Regions from separate parts of the Homo sapiens genome. Here region 2 is linked to region 1. The links are contacts of gene promoters, found by promoter capture Hi-C in human tissues and cell types (Jung and others, 2019). All regions are on one chromosome and are shown on one strand. The core of a region is centred on a gene start or on the middle of the fragment in contact, and the rest is flanking DNA. Distances in the headings are between cores, read along the strand shown.

The links. The method cuts DNA at HindIII sites, captures the fragments that hold promoters and counts their contacts. A contact is called where the count stands out against the background at its distance.
Region 2: the fragment with the promoter of TYROBP here is called in contact with the fragment with the promoter of CD22 in region 1 in 1 of the 25 tissues and cell types used here (liver).

Annotation. Positions count from the first base shown.
Region 1 is chr19:35,322,914-35,330,436 of GRCh38, reverse strand. It overlaps CD22 (CD22 molecule), which reads right to left and starts at 1,250. Exons shown (of 14, transcript NM_001771.4): 1 at 1,207-1,250. RefSeq lists enhancers at 504-553, 624-673 and a silencer at 6,929-6,988. The HindIII fragment of the contact is 23,810 bases long and covers 1-7,523 here.
Region 2 is chr19:35,903,643-35,911,165 of GRCh38, reverse strand. TYROBP (transmembrane immune signaling adaptor TYROBP) reads left to right here and starts at 2,871. Exons shown (of 5, transcript NM_003332.4): 1 at 2,871-2,998; 2 at 3,404-3,436; 3 at 3,586-3,720; 4 at 3,902-3,948; 5 at 6,532-6,763. The coding sequence starts at 2,938. The coding sequence ends at 6,597. It overlaps HCST (hematopoietic cell signal transducer), which reads right to left. Exons shown (of 4, transcript NM_014266.4): 3 at 7,263-7,394; 4 at 6,789-7,046. The coding sequence ends at 7,006. RefSeq lists enhancers at 1,355-1,464, 1,565-1,614, 1,765-1,894 and a silencer at 3,706-3,859. The HindIII fragment of the contact is 6,909 bases long and covers 1-5,597 here.

The DNA of each region.
Region 1 (7,523 bases), core at 1-2,500:
GGTACTCATCATGTCACATGCAAAAAACATCTTCAAGGTCACATACACTTGAGAAAGGCAGGGTAAAAGAGTTAAGTAAGATTCTTTTTTTTTCTTTTGAGACAGAGTCTCATTCTTCTGTCGCCCAGGCTGAAGTGCAGTGGTGTGATCTCAGTTCACTGCATCCTCTGCCTCCAGGGTTCAAGTGATTCTCCTGCCTCAGCCTCCTGAGTAGCTGGGACTATAGGCATGTGCCACCACACCCGTCTGATTTGTTTGTTTGTTTGTTTGTTTTAGTAGAGATGGGGTTTCACCATGTTGGCCAGGCTGGTTTCAAACTCCTGACCTCAGGTGATCCCCCCAACTTGGCCTCCCAAAGTGCTGAGATGACAGGCGTGAGCCACCGCACCTGGCTTAAGTAAGATTCTTTACTGCAGGACTTTAAAAACCTTTCAGTAAACTCTATCTACACCATTAATCTCTAGACATGGGGATTAGAGTATAGTATAATACATTGTCCATACTTCTTTGGCCATGGGATCTATTTTACATGTTCCATAAAAAACTTAGCAGGGTTGCAGAGCCAGAGTTCTTTGAAATCCCCTTAAGGTTACCTAAGGGGTAACAAGGGCTGTGGCAAGGACTAGACTCCGTTCCCTGCAGCCAACACTTGCCTCCAGGAGCCGGGCCATTGTCCCTCCTCTGCCAGCACCCTCCAGCCACAACCTGCTCTGGGACGGGCTGGAGCATCCCAGCATGAGTGGGAGATGGGCGCCTCCAGAGCAGGACTGTGTGCTGCCTCAAGGAGCTCCAGGAGTCTCTGGAGCACAGGAGTAGGGCCCCAGGCCCGGGAATTGGAAGGCTGAGGGTGGGGTGGAGGTTAGGGACAGCAGTTATTATGCACAGAGGCTCAGGACAGGGCCATGCTGTCCAGACCTCCTCAGTCCAGGCCTGTTGAGGGCCTTGCAGAACCTTGGGGCTGACCTCCCTGGCTCCTTCTTCCCTCCTGGGCATCCAATAACCTACCCTACTCTCAGAAGACTCAGCAGGCCTGGCAAGGAGGATGCTCAAGACAGGGGTCTGTCTACAACCTGTTGTAACACCGGTAAGAGAGAGCCAGGGAGGTCCCCACTGTGTTCCCAGCTCTGGGAGGTATGCCTGGCCCATAACTGCTGTTCCGTAATAACTTGCTTGTTGAATGCAAAATAAAAGCAAAATGATTTTTACCTGTTTCCGCGTGTCTTCCCTCTTCAGGGACCCTGGCAGCATCTGAGAGCAAAAGGAGAAGTACAGTAAAGTCTCTGGTGACAGAGGTTTCCCCTCCATGGCCACACCCCCTGCTTCTCTATGGCTCTGAGGGGGACCAAGCAGCACCGTGATCTGGGGAGTGGGGAAAAGAGACGATTGAGGGGGATGCGGGCTCGGAGTCAGATTGGAAGACTCGAATACGTATGGGCAGTTCTTCCTTTCCGTGTATGGGTTTGCAATATCAGATCAGTTTCAGAATGGGCTCCTCCACAACTCCCCCTCTACCCAGCTCTCAGGAAATGCGAATGACTCAAGCCAAGCAGGAGAACTGCAGCCCGCTGAAAAAGGCACAGGCCTACCTGAAAGTATTTGTAGTTTAGTGACACCATCCAGTTATTACCATTTCCACTCTTTTCATCATAGGCATAAATGGTGGGGAATCTGACCACCTACACTGAAGCCCCCAAGGGTTGAGGGAGGAGCACATAGATATTGAGGAGGAAAAAGATATCTCGGCCGGGTGCGGTGGCTCATGCCTGGAATCCCAACACTTTGGGAGGCTGAGGCGGGTGGATCACTTGAGGTCAGGAATTCGAGACCAGCCTGGCGAACATGGTGAAATTCCGTCTCTACTAAAAATACAAAAAATTAGCTAAGTGTTTTGGCAGGCGCCTGTAGTCCCAGCTACTCAGGGGGCTGAGGCAGGAGAATCACTTGAGCCCAGGAGGCGGAGGCTGCAGTGAGAAGAGATCACACCACTGCAGTCCAGCCTGGGTGACAGAGTGAGACTCTGTCTCAAAAAAAAAAAAAGAAAGAAAGAAAGAAAGAAAGAAAAAGAAAAGATATCTTGTAGGACTGGGCATGGTGGCTCATGCCTGTAATCCTAGCGCTTTGGGTGGCCAAGGCGGGTGGATTGCCTGAGCTCAGGAGTTCAAGACCAGCTTGGGCAACATGGTAAAACCCCATCTCTACTAAAAAAAAAAAAAAAAAAAATCCAAAAATTAGCTGGGTGTGGTGGCGGGCGCCTGTGGTCCCAGCTACTCAGGAGGCTAAGGCAGGAGAATCACTTAAGCCCGAGAGGCTGAGGTTGCAGTGAGCAGATCGCGCTGTGGCACTCCAGCCTGGGTGACAGAGCCAGATCCTGTCTCAAAAAAACAAAAAAGATATCTTGTAGGAAGTGTTATTGAATGGAGAGTCTTTAGGCTGAAACCTCATCACCTTTATAATCCTGTAGCCAGCGAGTGTCTCAGGAGCAGAACAGACAGCATTGGAAGCCATGCACATCCTACAGATGAAGAGGGATGCGCTGAGAGGTCTTCACTCCAGCACCACTGCCCTCTATGGGCAGCTGGCCATAGGGAGGGAAACAGAGAGAGGGAAGAACACCTTCTTCCAAAAGCACCGATAGGGCTGGGTGTGGTGACTTATGCCTGTAATACGCTTTGGGAGAGCAAGGCAAGAGGATTGCTTAAGGCCAGAAGTTTGAGACCAACCTGAACAACACAGCAAAACTCTGTGGGGCTAGTCAACAAAAGCAAAAAATGAAAAGTAGCTGGGCATGGTGGCCCATGCCTGTGGTCCAAACTACTTGGGAGGCTGAGGCAGGAGGATCGCTTGAGCCTGGGAGTTCAAGGCTTCAGTCAGCCATGATAGCACCACTGCACTCCAGCCCAGGCAACAAAGTAAGACCTTGTCTCAGTAAATAATAAATAAATAAAATGAACAAAAAGCAGTGATGTTCTGGAAAGATGGAGTAGATGTATTTATTTATTCTGCCAAGTATAACTGAAAACCTTGAACGTGACAAGACAAGCATAAGAAGACTGAAAGATGGAGAGAAGCAGACTGGTTAGGAACCTCGGGACTTAAGGAATGGTGGTGAATTCCCTGGGATTTCTCTTTGCCTCATATATCTCAGGCTGAATACTGGAGAAGCCAACAACTGAAAATGCCAAGGGGCACAAACAAGAAAAAGTCCCAACAGAACAAGTTCTAGCAAAACTATGCTTTTCTAGCCAAAGAACGAGGAAAGGGGCATCCTAGAAAGACAGAGCTCTTTTAGTCCATACCTGCTCCGCTCCATCCAAGTTCCATCATCACCCTTGTCAGCAAAGGCCGGATGGAAAACCTAGACATTCACCTTCACCAGGCTGTAACAAAGAACCCTAGGCCACTCCCATACTCAGCCAGAGTGATGCTAGAGTTGGAGCTGGGACATTCCTCCCCACTGGGATCACCCTCCCCCGATGTGGTGTTGGTGGAAACCATGTGGGCAGCCTGGACATCCACTGCCACCCCAATGCAGAAATGAGGCATTCCACCCGGCCCCATTGGAGTAGTGTCAAAGGGGGCCTGGTGGAGAGTTGGGACTTTCGCCACCACTCAGTGGTAACAAGCACCCCCCTCTCTCTGCCACACACAGTGTCAGTGAAAGCCACATAGGGAGCAGTAATGAAGCATCCCTCCCACTCCCAGCCAGGGAGTTGTCATGGATTCCTAGTGGGGAACCTGAACTTCTACCCTTACCAAACAATAACATGGAGGCCTCATCTCTCCCAACCCCCCAGGTTCAGGAAAGGCTGGATGGAGAACCTGGACTTTTATCCCTGTCTGGAAGCAATCAGGCAGTGCCCTACTTTATTTCGCTGGAGCAGTATAAAGGGAAGCCCACTAAAACAAAATATTTAAAGAAGATCCAGAATCTTATAACACAGTGCCCAGAATATCCTGACTTCAATGGCAAATCACTTGTCATACTAGGAATCAGGCATTCTCAAACTGAATAACAAAAGATAATTAACAGACACAAACATCAAGACGACACAGATGTTAGAATTATCTGACAAAGATTTTGGAGCAGCCATCATAAAAGTGTTTCACTGAGAAATTATAAATGTGCTTGAAACAAATAAAATAATAAAAAGTATCAGCAAAGAAATAGAAAATATAAAGAAGAACCAAATGGAAACTTTAGAACTAAAAAATACAACTAAAAAATACAAGAGCTGAAATAAAAACCATAATGGATGGGCTCAATAGCAGAATGGAGAGTATAGAAGAAAGAAGCAGTGAAACAAAACGTATAACAATAGAAATTACCCATTCTGAACAATGGAAAGAAAATAGATGAAAGAAAATGGAACAAAGCCTCAAGGACATGAGTAACTATAATAAAAGAAGATCTAACATTTTGTCATTGAAGTCCCAGAAGGGGAGGAAAAGGAGGGTGGGCCTTAAAAAAATATTCCAAGAAGTAATGGCTGCAAATTATCTTCATTTGACAACACACACGCACAACATATGTCTACAGATTCAAGAAGCTGAGCGCATCACAAACAGGATAAACCCAAAGAAATTCATGCCAAGACACATCATAGTCAAACTTCTAAAAACAAGAGGCAGAGAAAATTCTCGAAAGCAACCACATAAAAATGCAAAAAATTAGCCAGTTGGGTGGTGCGTGCCTGTAGTCCCAGCTACTCAGGAGGCCAAGGCAGGAGGATCACTTGAACCTGGGAGGCGGAGGTTGCAGTGAGCTGAGATCCTGCCACTGCACTCCAGCCTGGGCAACAGAGCGAAACTCTGTCTTAATTAAAAAGTAAAATAAAATAAAAACAAAAAACCTCTGGAAGATAACATAGGAGAAAATCTGTGAGACTTAGAGCTTGATGAAGTGTTCTTAGACATGACACCAAAGGCATGATCCCTAAAAAAATCAATCCAACTTCATCAAAATTAATTTTTTTTTGCTCTGTAAAAGACCTAGTTAAGAGAATGAAAAGACAAATTACAGACTAAGAGAAAATATTTGCAAACCACATATCTGACAAAGGACTCCTATCTAGAACAAATATATAAAGAACTCTCAAATTCAACATAGAAACACTACATAAAAAAATCAAATCATCCAATTAGAAGACTGGCAAAAGATATAAAGAGAAATTTCACCCAAGGGGATATATGGATAGAAAATAATTATCTAAAAAGATATTCAACATCACTAGCCTTTAGACAGGTTAAGACCATGATGAGATATCACTACTAACATCTATAAGAACAGCTAAAATAAAAGATAGTATCAAATACTGGAAAGATGTATGGAAACTAAATCATTTATATATTGCTAGTGTGAATATAAAATTGTCCAGCCACTCTGGAAAAAAGTCTCAAAACAGTTCCTCCAAAGATTAAGCATAGAATTACCATACACTCCTGCATCTCCACTCTTACATATATAACCAAGAGAAATAAGAACATGTTCACCCAGAAACTTGAACACAAATGTTTACAGCAGCATTATTCATGAAAGCCAAAAAGCAGAAACAACCCACATGTCCATGAAGAGATGAATGAATAAAGAAAATATGGGAGACCTAAACAATAAAATATTATTTGATAATAAAAAGGAATGAAGTACTGATAGATACTACAACATGGATGAACTTTTTTTCGAGACCGAGTTTCACTTGTTGCCCAGGCTGGAGTGCAGTGGTGCCATCTCGGCTCACTGCAACCTCTGCCTCCCAGGTTCAAGCGATTCTCCTGCCTCAACCTTCTGAGTGACTGGGATTACAGGCATCCGCCACCACGCCCAGCTAATTATTCATATTGTTAGTAGAGACGGGGTTTTACCATGTTGGCCAGACTGGTCCTGAACTCCTGACCTCAGGTGATCCACCCGCCTTGGCCTCCCAAAGTGCTGGGATTACAGGCGTGAGCCACGGCGCCTGGATATGGATGAACTTTGAAAACATTAAGTGAAAGAAGCCAATCACAAAATGTCACATATTGTATGATTCCATTCACGTGAAATATTCAGAAAAGGCAAATCTGTAGAGACAGAAGTAGATGTAGCGGTTGCGTAGGGCTGGGGTGGGGTGGGAAAGGTAAGAGGAAATGAAGAGTGACTGCTAATGGATGTGAGATTATTTTGGGGTGATGAAATGTTCTAAAACTGGTTGTGGTGATGGTTGCATAATTCAGTGAATAGACCCAAAACCATTCAATTGGACATTTTACATGGGTGTGTTTTATGGTATGTGAATTATATCTCAGCAAAGCTGTTATATATGTAGTATATATGTAATATATAACAGCTTTACATACAGCTTTAACACACATATGTGTGCATATATGTGTGTGTATGTATATTGTGTGTGTGTGTGTACATATATATATATATAAAATAAAAATCAGGCTGGGCACGATGGCTCACACCTGTAATCCCAGCACTTTGGGAAGCAAAGTGGATCACCTGAGGTCAGGAGTTCAAGACCAGCCTGGCCAACATGGCAAAACCCCATCTCTACTAAAAATACAAAAATTAGCAGGCATGGTGGTGTGCGCCTATAATCCCAGCTGCTCAGGAAGCTGAGGCAGGAGAGTCACCTGAGCCCAGGAGGCGGAGGTTGCAGTGAGCTGAGATCCCACCACTGCACTCCAGCCTGGGCGACAGAGTGAGACTCTGTCTCTAAATAAATAAATAAATAAATAAATAAATAAATAAATAAATAAAAAACAGTCCAGTTAGAAAATAGGCAAAAGACATGATGACACCTTTCCCTGAAGAAGGTATATAGAAGGCAAATAAGCACATGAAAAGATGTCTCACATCACCAGCCATTAGTGAAATGCAAATTGAAACCCATGACAAGATACCGCTTTAGAACAGCTAAAATTAAATAACCAATAATGACAACACCAAACACTGGTGAGGATGCTGTGAACTTGAAACATTCACACACGACTGGTGGGGATGCAAAGTGGTCCAGCTACTCTGGAAAACAGTTTGCCGGTTTCCTGAAAAACTAAACAAAATATACCTACCAGATGACCCAGCAATTGCACTCCTGGGCATTTTATCCCTAAGAAATGAAAACGTATGTCCACATAAAAACCTGCACACAATTATTCACAGCAGCTTTGTTTGTAATAGCCAAAAACTGGAAACAGGCCAGGCACGGTGGCTCACGCCTGTAATCCCAGCACTTTGGGAGGCCGAGGTGGGCGATCACCTGAGGTCAGGAGTAATCTCAGCATTTTGCGAGGCCAAGGAGGGCAATCACCTGAGGTCAGGAGTTCGAGACCAGCCTGGCCAACATTGTGAAATCCTGTCTCTATTAAAAATACAAAATGAGCTGGTCGTGGCGGTACATGCTGGTAATCCCAGTGTAAATAGTAAAGTAGAAGTTCCTTTTCAAAGAGACTGTCCTCCCCATCTAATTAAGAATAAATAGTAACTTCTCTTAGAAGCAAAATTTATTCAAAGACCTGTGCTAACATTCTTAAATATCTAC
Region 2 (7,523 bases), core at 1,622-4,121, 580 kb before region 1:
GCTCACTGCAACCTCTGCCTCCCAGGTTCAAGCGATTCTCCTGCCTCAGCCTCCCAAGTAGCTGGTATTACAGGCGCCTGCCACCATGTCTGGCTAGTTTTTGTATTTTTAGTAGAGACAGGGTTTCACCATGTTGGCCAGGCTGGTCTCAAACTCCTGACCTCAGGTGATCCACCCTCCTTGGCCTCCTAAAGTCCCAAAATCCAAAATCACGCCTGGGATTACAGGTGTGAGCCACTGCACCTGGCTGAGGGAGGATTTTTATCAAGCTAAGCTGAGAACTCGAGACTGGACATACTAATTTTTAGCATGGAACATATCCAAGTCACACGGTACCGAAGTATGTTCGCAGCAGTGAATCCATAGGGGTCTGCAGCAACCTCAATCCTTGCCTCCTCAAAAAAGAATTTGACCAAGGGACATAAGGCAGAGTGAGAAACCAAGGTAAGTTTTAGAGCAGGAGTGAAAGTTTATTATTATTATTATTATTATTATTATTATTATTATTATTATTATTATTTTGAGACTGAGTTTCGCTTTTGTTGCCCAGGCTGGAGTGCAATGGCGCAATCTCTGCTCACTGCAACCTCTGCCTCCTGGGTTCAAGCGATTCTCCTGCCTCAGGCTCCTGAGTAGCTGGAATTACAGGCACGCGCCACCACGCCAGGCTAATTTTGTATTTTTTAGTAAAGACCGAGTTTCTCCATATTGGTCAGGCTGGTCTCGAACTGCCGACCTCAGGGGATCCGCCCACCTCGGTCTTCCAAAGTGTTGGATTACAGGCGTGATCCACCGCGCTTGGCCCTTTATTATTATTATCATTATTTTGAGACAGAGTCTTGCTGTGTCGCCCAGGCTGGAGTGCAGTGGCGCGATCTCAGCTCACTGTAACCTCCACCTTCCAGGTTCAAGGTATTGTCTTGCCTCAGCCTTCTGAGTAGCTGGGACTACAGGTGCCCACCACCATGCCCAGGTAATTTTTTGTATTTTTAGTAGAGACCGGGTTTCACCATGTTGGCCAGGATGGTCTCGATCTCCTGACCTCGTGATCCGCCCGCCTCAGCCTCCCAAAGTGCTGGGATTACAGGCATAAGCCACCGTGCCCAGCCTAATTTTTAGTAGAGATGGGGTTTCACCATGCTGGCCGGGCTGGTCTTGAACTCAACCAGGCATTATTCTAATAGACCTCACAATATCCTCACAAATATCCCAGCAGCCTGGCCTCCCTGCTCCAGTCCCTGCCTCCACAGTCTGCTCCCCACCTGCGGCCGGAGGGAACCTGTGAACCCCTGAGTCAGGTCAGGGCCCTCCTGGCTCAGAGCCCTGCTCTGGTCTCTGACTGCCCCCTCGCCCACTCTGCTCCAACACATTGGGTGGCCTGGTGTGCCCGGGAGGACCTACAGGGTCTGTTCCCTCCATGCTCGCTCTAGACACAATGGGAGAGGCTTGGGTTTTTAAGGGAGGGGACTCAGCCAGGCCTGAACAGTGGTGACCGTGGGCTGAGCTGGGACCTGACCCTCCTCCAGGCTCCAAATCTCCTCTCCTCCCTTCCCCCACAGGCCACTGGGCATCTGCCCTGTGACCAGAATCCAGTTTCCCCTTTTTTCTCCTAAGCCCAGGCCCAAGGAGCGGTGGGTGTGACGTGTGGATGGGGGAGGGGGGCTTCCTGCAGCTGTCTCATCCTCCAGCACCCTAACCTCAGGTTCCTCCTTCCCCAGCCCCAGGCTCCAGCTGGGGGCTAGAAGTCCCCGTCTCCTTGGGGTGGCCTCCCTTGGGCCTTGCTCCCAGCCACTTCCTCATTCAGCAGGAGAGCCAGCCACCTGCCTCTCCCCAAGCCGCCAGCCGTGCCTCTGTGTCTGTGCCACTGCCTTACTCTCACCTTTCTCAGCTTTGCCGCTGTTTTCTCCTTCCCCATCTTTCATCTTTGTTTTTCCCCCTGACTCTTCCCTAGTCAAAAACCTGATTTTGGGTCTTGGGTTCCATTTCCACCTTGATTTGCTGTGCAGCCTTAGGCAAGCGTCTCTACCTCTCTGAACAATGGGGATGATAAGAGCATGTGCCCTAGAAGGGCATTGCGGGGACTGAATGATTTAACGCTTGGGACAGAGTGCCTGCATGTCATTAGTGCCCACATGCTGCTGGCTCTTTTAATATCCTTTAAACAGCACAAGTTTCTGATGATTAAATAATCATCATCATAGCTGATGCTTTTAAAAAGCTGACAAGGGTCAGACCCTGGTCTAGGAACTTTAATTCATTTAATCCCCACAACTCTAAAAAGTAGGTCCCATTTTACTCCCAATTTTACAGATGAAGAAACTGAGGTTGGAGCTGGGTGCGGTGGCTCACACTTGCAATCCTAGCACTTCGGGAGGCCAAGGTGGGTGGATCACCTGAGGTCAGGAGTTTGAGACCAGCTGGCCAACATGGTGAAACCCTGTCTCTACTAAAAAAAAAAGAAAAAAAAATACAAAAAATTAGCCGGGCATGGTGGCAGGCGCCTATAATCCCAGCTACTTGGGAGGCTGAGGCAGGAGAATCACTTGAACCCGGGAGGCAGAGGTTGCAGTGAGCCGAGACCGTGCCATTGCACTCAAGGTTGACCAGCCAGGAAGAGGCAGAGCTGGTTTCAATCAGCCAGAGGAAGGTCATGACACTGACCCTCCTGTTAAAACGATGTCTGACCCCTGACTGGGGACGGAGGTGAAGTTTGTGCTTCACGTACCCTTTGCCCTTCACGTCTAGTTGCTGGGGGCCTGTGGCATGGCCCCTGGGTGTCTGGGCCTGATTCTTTCTTGGGTTTTGTTTCTGTCTCTCCTCCCCTGTCTCCTCCTCCCTTCTGCCACCACCCGCCTCAGACTTCCTCCTTCACTTGCCTGGACGCTGCGCCACATCCCACCGGCCCTTACACTGTGGTGTCCAGCAGCATCCGGCTTCATGGGGGGACTTGAACCCTGCAGCAGGCTCCTGCTCCTGCCTCTCCTGCTGGCTGTAAGTGGTGAGTTAGGGGCTTCCGTGGCTGCCTCCCGGGTCCCTGGGCTCAGCTTGGGGCAGGGCAGGGAGTGGGGTGGAACGAGAGAACCAAAAGTGGGTGTTGGGATGGGAGCAGGTCCCCAACCTCCCAAAGCCTGTGGGTTTCTCCCAGAGCCCAAGCCCCCAAGTTTTGTCGTCCGCTACAAGCAGGGGAGAAGAGACATCTAAGTGTGTTGCCACAGGACAAGTTGTGCAGAAGTAACGCACATAGTCCGGTGGCCCAGACGCCAGCCCCCTGAGTCCCGCCAGACACGCTCTCCCCCTTGCTAACCTCTTGGCTGTCAGGATCCACCTTCCCTGGCTTCTAAACTTGCCTCCCCCACCCCCGTCATAACTCTGTGCCTCAGTTTACCTTCTTTTTCCTCCTCAGGTCTCCGTCCTGTCCAGGCCCAGGCCCAGAGCGGTAGGCCTAGACCCAGCAGTCCCTCTCTCTACCTCCCAGAGACCTCCCTGTCTCCGTCTCTCCCACACCCTTTCCAAACCTCCCTGCCGCTGACCCCCCTCCCCACAGTTCCCAGCACACACTGACCTCCCCTGACCCCTGTGCTGCAGATTGCAGTTGCTCTACGGTGAGCCCGGGCGTGCTGGCAGGGATCGTGATGGGAGACCTGGTGCTGACAGTGCTCATTGCCCTGGCCGTGTACTTCCTGGGCCGGCTGGTCCCTCGGGGGCGAGGGGCTGCGGAGGGTGAGTGGGGCTAGCAGGGGACATCCTGAGGACTTGCCTAGATGGGGGTGGGGGGCTGGGTAAACTCCCAGATCTCAAACATCCAAAGGGATGGTAATGGAGGTGCTGATTTGGAATGACAAAACACCCTCAACTCACCACTCTGCCTGTCTCTGCACCCCACAACACCCCTCACCTCCAGCAGCGACCCGGAAACAGCGTATCACTGAGACCGAGTCGCCTTATCAGGTGAGAAAACCAGACTGTCCTCCTCACATTTCACTCCTGCCAGGGATATCTGCCCCAGATACTCCTTCATGCCATCAGAGGGACCTCAAAGCCACTCTGCCTAAAGCACCCCCAAACCTTGAAGGCACATGGGACATCTGTCCAAAACTGGGCCGAATGATCAACCACAAGCTTATGGTCAGCTTAAAATGTGTGAAGAGGGGCTGGGCACGGTGACTCAAACCTGTAATCCCAGCACTTTGGGAGACAGAGGCGGGTGGATCACTTGAGGTCAGGAGTTCGAGACCAACATGGTGAAACCCTGTCTCTACTAAAAATACAAAATTAGCTGGGCGTGGTAACGCATGCCTGTAATCCCAGCTACTTGGGAGGCTGAGGCAGGAGAATCCTTTGACCCAGGAGGCGGAGGTTGCAGTGAGCCAAGATCACGCAATTGCACTCCAGCCTGGGCAACAAGAGGAAAACTCTGTCAAAAAAAAAAAAGCGTGAAGAGTTAAAAAGAAAAAAAAAAGGGTGGCTTTGCCTTTGTAAGTGTAAACACAGGCCTTGCCAGAAGTCAGGCCAGGAATTTTCTGGAAGAAACCCAGCCCTAGGACGACTGATTTCTGGGAGACGCTCTCAGTAGGGCAGAGAATGTCATTCAGCCCTACCTTGGTAACTCTAAAGAGAGGAGTCCTAGAATCTCTTTTTTGGGTTTGAGGACCCTTCATCCCTTTGAGAAACTAAGAAAATCTAGACTCCCAGAAAAATCTACACAAAAAATACAAAATTGTGCATATAATCTGAGAGCAGTGTAAATGTTCTTTATAATTAAAAAAAATTTTTTTTTGGCCAGGCATGGTGGCACACACCTGTAATCCCAGCACTTTGGGAGGCCAAGGTGGGTGGATCACGAGGTCAGGAGTTCAAGACCAGCCAGGCCAGGATGGTGAAACCCCATCTCTACTAAAAATACAAAAATTAGCTGGGCATGGTGTCATGCGCCTGTAATTCCAGCTTCTCAGGAGGCTGAGGCAAGAGAATCGCTTGAACCCAGGGGGCGGAGGTTGCAGTGAGCCTGGGCGACAGAGTGAGACTCCATCTCAAAAAAAAAAAAAAGACAGGGGTCTCACTATGTTGCCCCAGCTGGTCTCAAACTCCCAGTCTCAAGTGATCCTCCCGCCTCAGCCTCCGAAAATCTTGGGATTACAGGCTCAAGCAACCATGCTGGTTGAGTATTCTTGAAGCTCTTTTTTCTTTCTCTACTTTAATTTTTTTTTTTTTTTGAGATGGAGTCTCATTCTGTCACCCAGGCTGGAGTGCAATGGTGTGGTCTCAGCTCACTGCAACCTCCACCTCCCAGGTTCAAGCGATTCTCTTGCCTGAGCCTCCCGAGTAGCTGGAACTACAGGTGCATGCCACCACACCCGGCTAATTTTTGTATTTTTAGTAGAGATGGGGTTTCACTATGTTGGCCAGGCTGGTCTCAATCTCCTGACCTCGTGATCCGCCCACCTTTCCCTCCCAAAGTGCTGGGATTAGAGGTGTGAGCCACCGCGCCCGGCCTTAATTTTTTTTTTTTTTTTAAAGTAGAGATAGGTTCTCACTATGTTGCCCAGGCTGGTCTCAAACTCCTGGGCTCAAGAGATCCTGTTACCTCGGTCTCCCAAAGTGCTGGGATTATAGGCATGAGTCACCATGCCTGGCTGAAGCTCTTTTTAAAAACTATAGAGTATACAAGAGAATCTAGTCATCTATCCCCCTCTCTGTCAATGTTCCTTTTTAACCCTTTAGGGGGTCATGAGATTCTCTAAGACCTCTCCCCTGAAGAATGCACGCCCAGACTAGTCATCATATATGATTTTAGGGTTTCTGTCTGAGGCCTGCCCCTGGGGGCCACATAGATCCTCCCCCTACCCCAAGTGTGAACACTGCTGTGTGAAGTCTGATATATTGTCTGCAACCAGCTTTGCCTATTCACCTCACTTGTGGATAAAGTTTCTTTGTGAAGTCTAAGAATCTCAGGTTTGGCTCTGTGATATCCAGAAGACCGAGGGGCCCTTCCAGTTACTGGTGGCAGTGAAATTTTAGGGCAAAGCATTACCCGGATGTATTTATTCCCTCTGTGGATGTGTCTAGCACCTATAAGTGCTAAATGCTGGGGACACAGTGACAGAGTTTATATCCTAGTTAAGACAAACTTAAAGCAAATGAACAAATAAAATAATTTTGGGAGGCACAGTAAAGGAAATAAACAGGCTTTTTTTTTTTTTTTTACAGTGGCTGGAGTGTGGGGGGAAGAAACTACAGAGGGGAAATTGAGAAATGCCTCTCTGAGGAGGTGACGTGAGCTGAGACTTGAAGGGAGAGGGGATCTAGGGGAACAGAGTTTTAGGCAGAGGAAACAGCACACGCAGGGACCCTGAGGCTGGGGCACACTGATGAGGCAGAGGAGAAGGGGGAACATTGAATGTACTTGAATAAAATCCGGATCTCTTTCATGGCTATAAGGCTGAAGAAGCTGCCAGGGGCCTTGCAGGCCACTGGGAGAAGGCTGGATTTTATTTGGTGGGTCCCTTCCACTGATGGCCCCCATTCCTTTAGGAGCTCCAGGGTCAGAGGTCGGATGTCTACAGCGACCTCAACACACAGAGGCCGTATTACAAATGAGCCCGAATCATGACAGTCAGCAACATGATACCTGGATCCAGCCATTCCTGAAGCCCACCCTGCACCTCATTCCAACTCCTACCGCGATACAGACCCACAGAGTGCCATCCCTGAGAGACCAGACCGCTCCCCAATACTCTCCTAAAATAAACATGAAGCACAAAAACATTATGCCAGATCCTTGGGCTGATGGGATGGGGACATGTGGGGGTTCTGAGGGGGCCTTGGATCCAGAAACAGTTCATGGGAGGGAGGCTTTGGGAACTCTGGGGTTCTTTGAGAAAGAATACGACTACAGGTGTTTCAATTGTTTTATTACAATCCAAAAGTTGGGGCGGGGGTTCCTGTGCCACCACACACCATCCAGGATGAGAGGGTCAGAAGTCAAAGGTCCAAGCTGCAGGAGGGTCAGCCCCTGCCTGGCATGTTGATGTAGACTTTGCCATCTTCTGGGGATAGGGGAGAGAAAGCATGAAGCTTGACCACCCATATCTCCACTTCCCTGGGGACCCCCTGCTTCAGGGGTTTCCTCAGGGGTTCCCCCAGGCACCTCCCCCAGGGTTTCCCCAGCACCTCCTCCAGGGCTTCCCCAAGGGCCCCCTCCCTGGGACCCCCTCCCTAGGGACACTATACACCTTCCAGGCCCCGCCCATCTCCGCCCTCACCTTGGGCGGGGCTGCGGCGTGGGCGTGCGCACAGGAACACCGCCCCCACGATGAGCAGCGATGCCACCGCATCAGCAGCCACGAGGCCTGCCAGGAGCGGCAGAGAGAGGGACCCACATCCGGAACAAGAGCCTGGAGAGTGGGGGCCGGAACAGGGAGACAACTCAAGCTCTGCGTCCTGGGGCTGTGCTTTGGCCACAGGCAGAGAGGAAGTCCCCTGCGAGGGGGCGGGTCCCAGGTTCCTTGGAGTTGCGCTTGGGG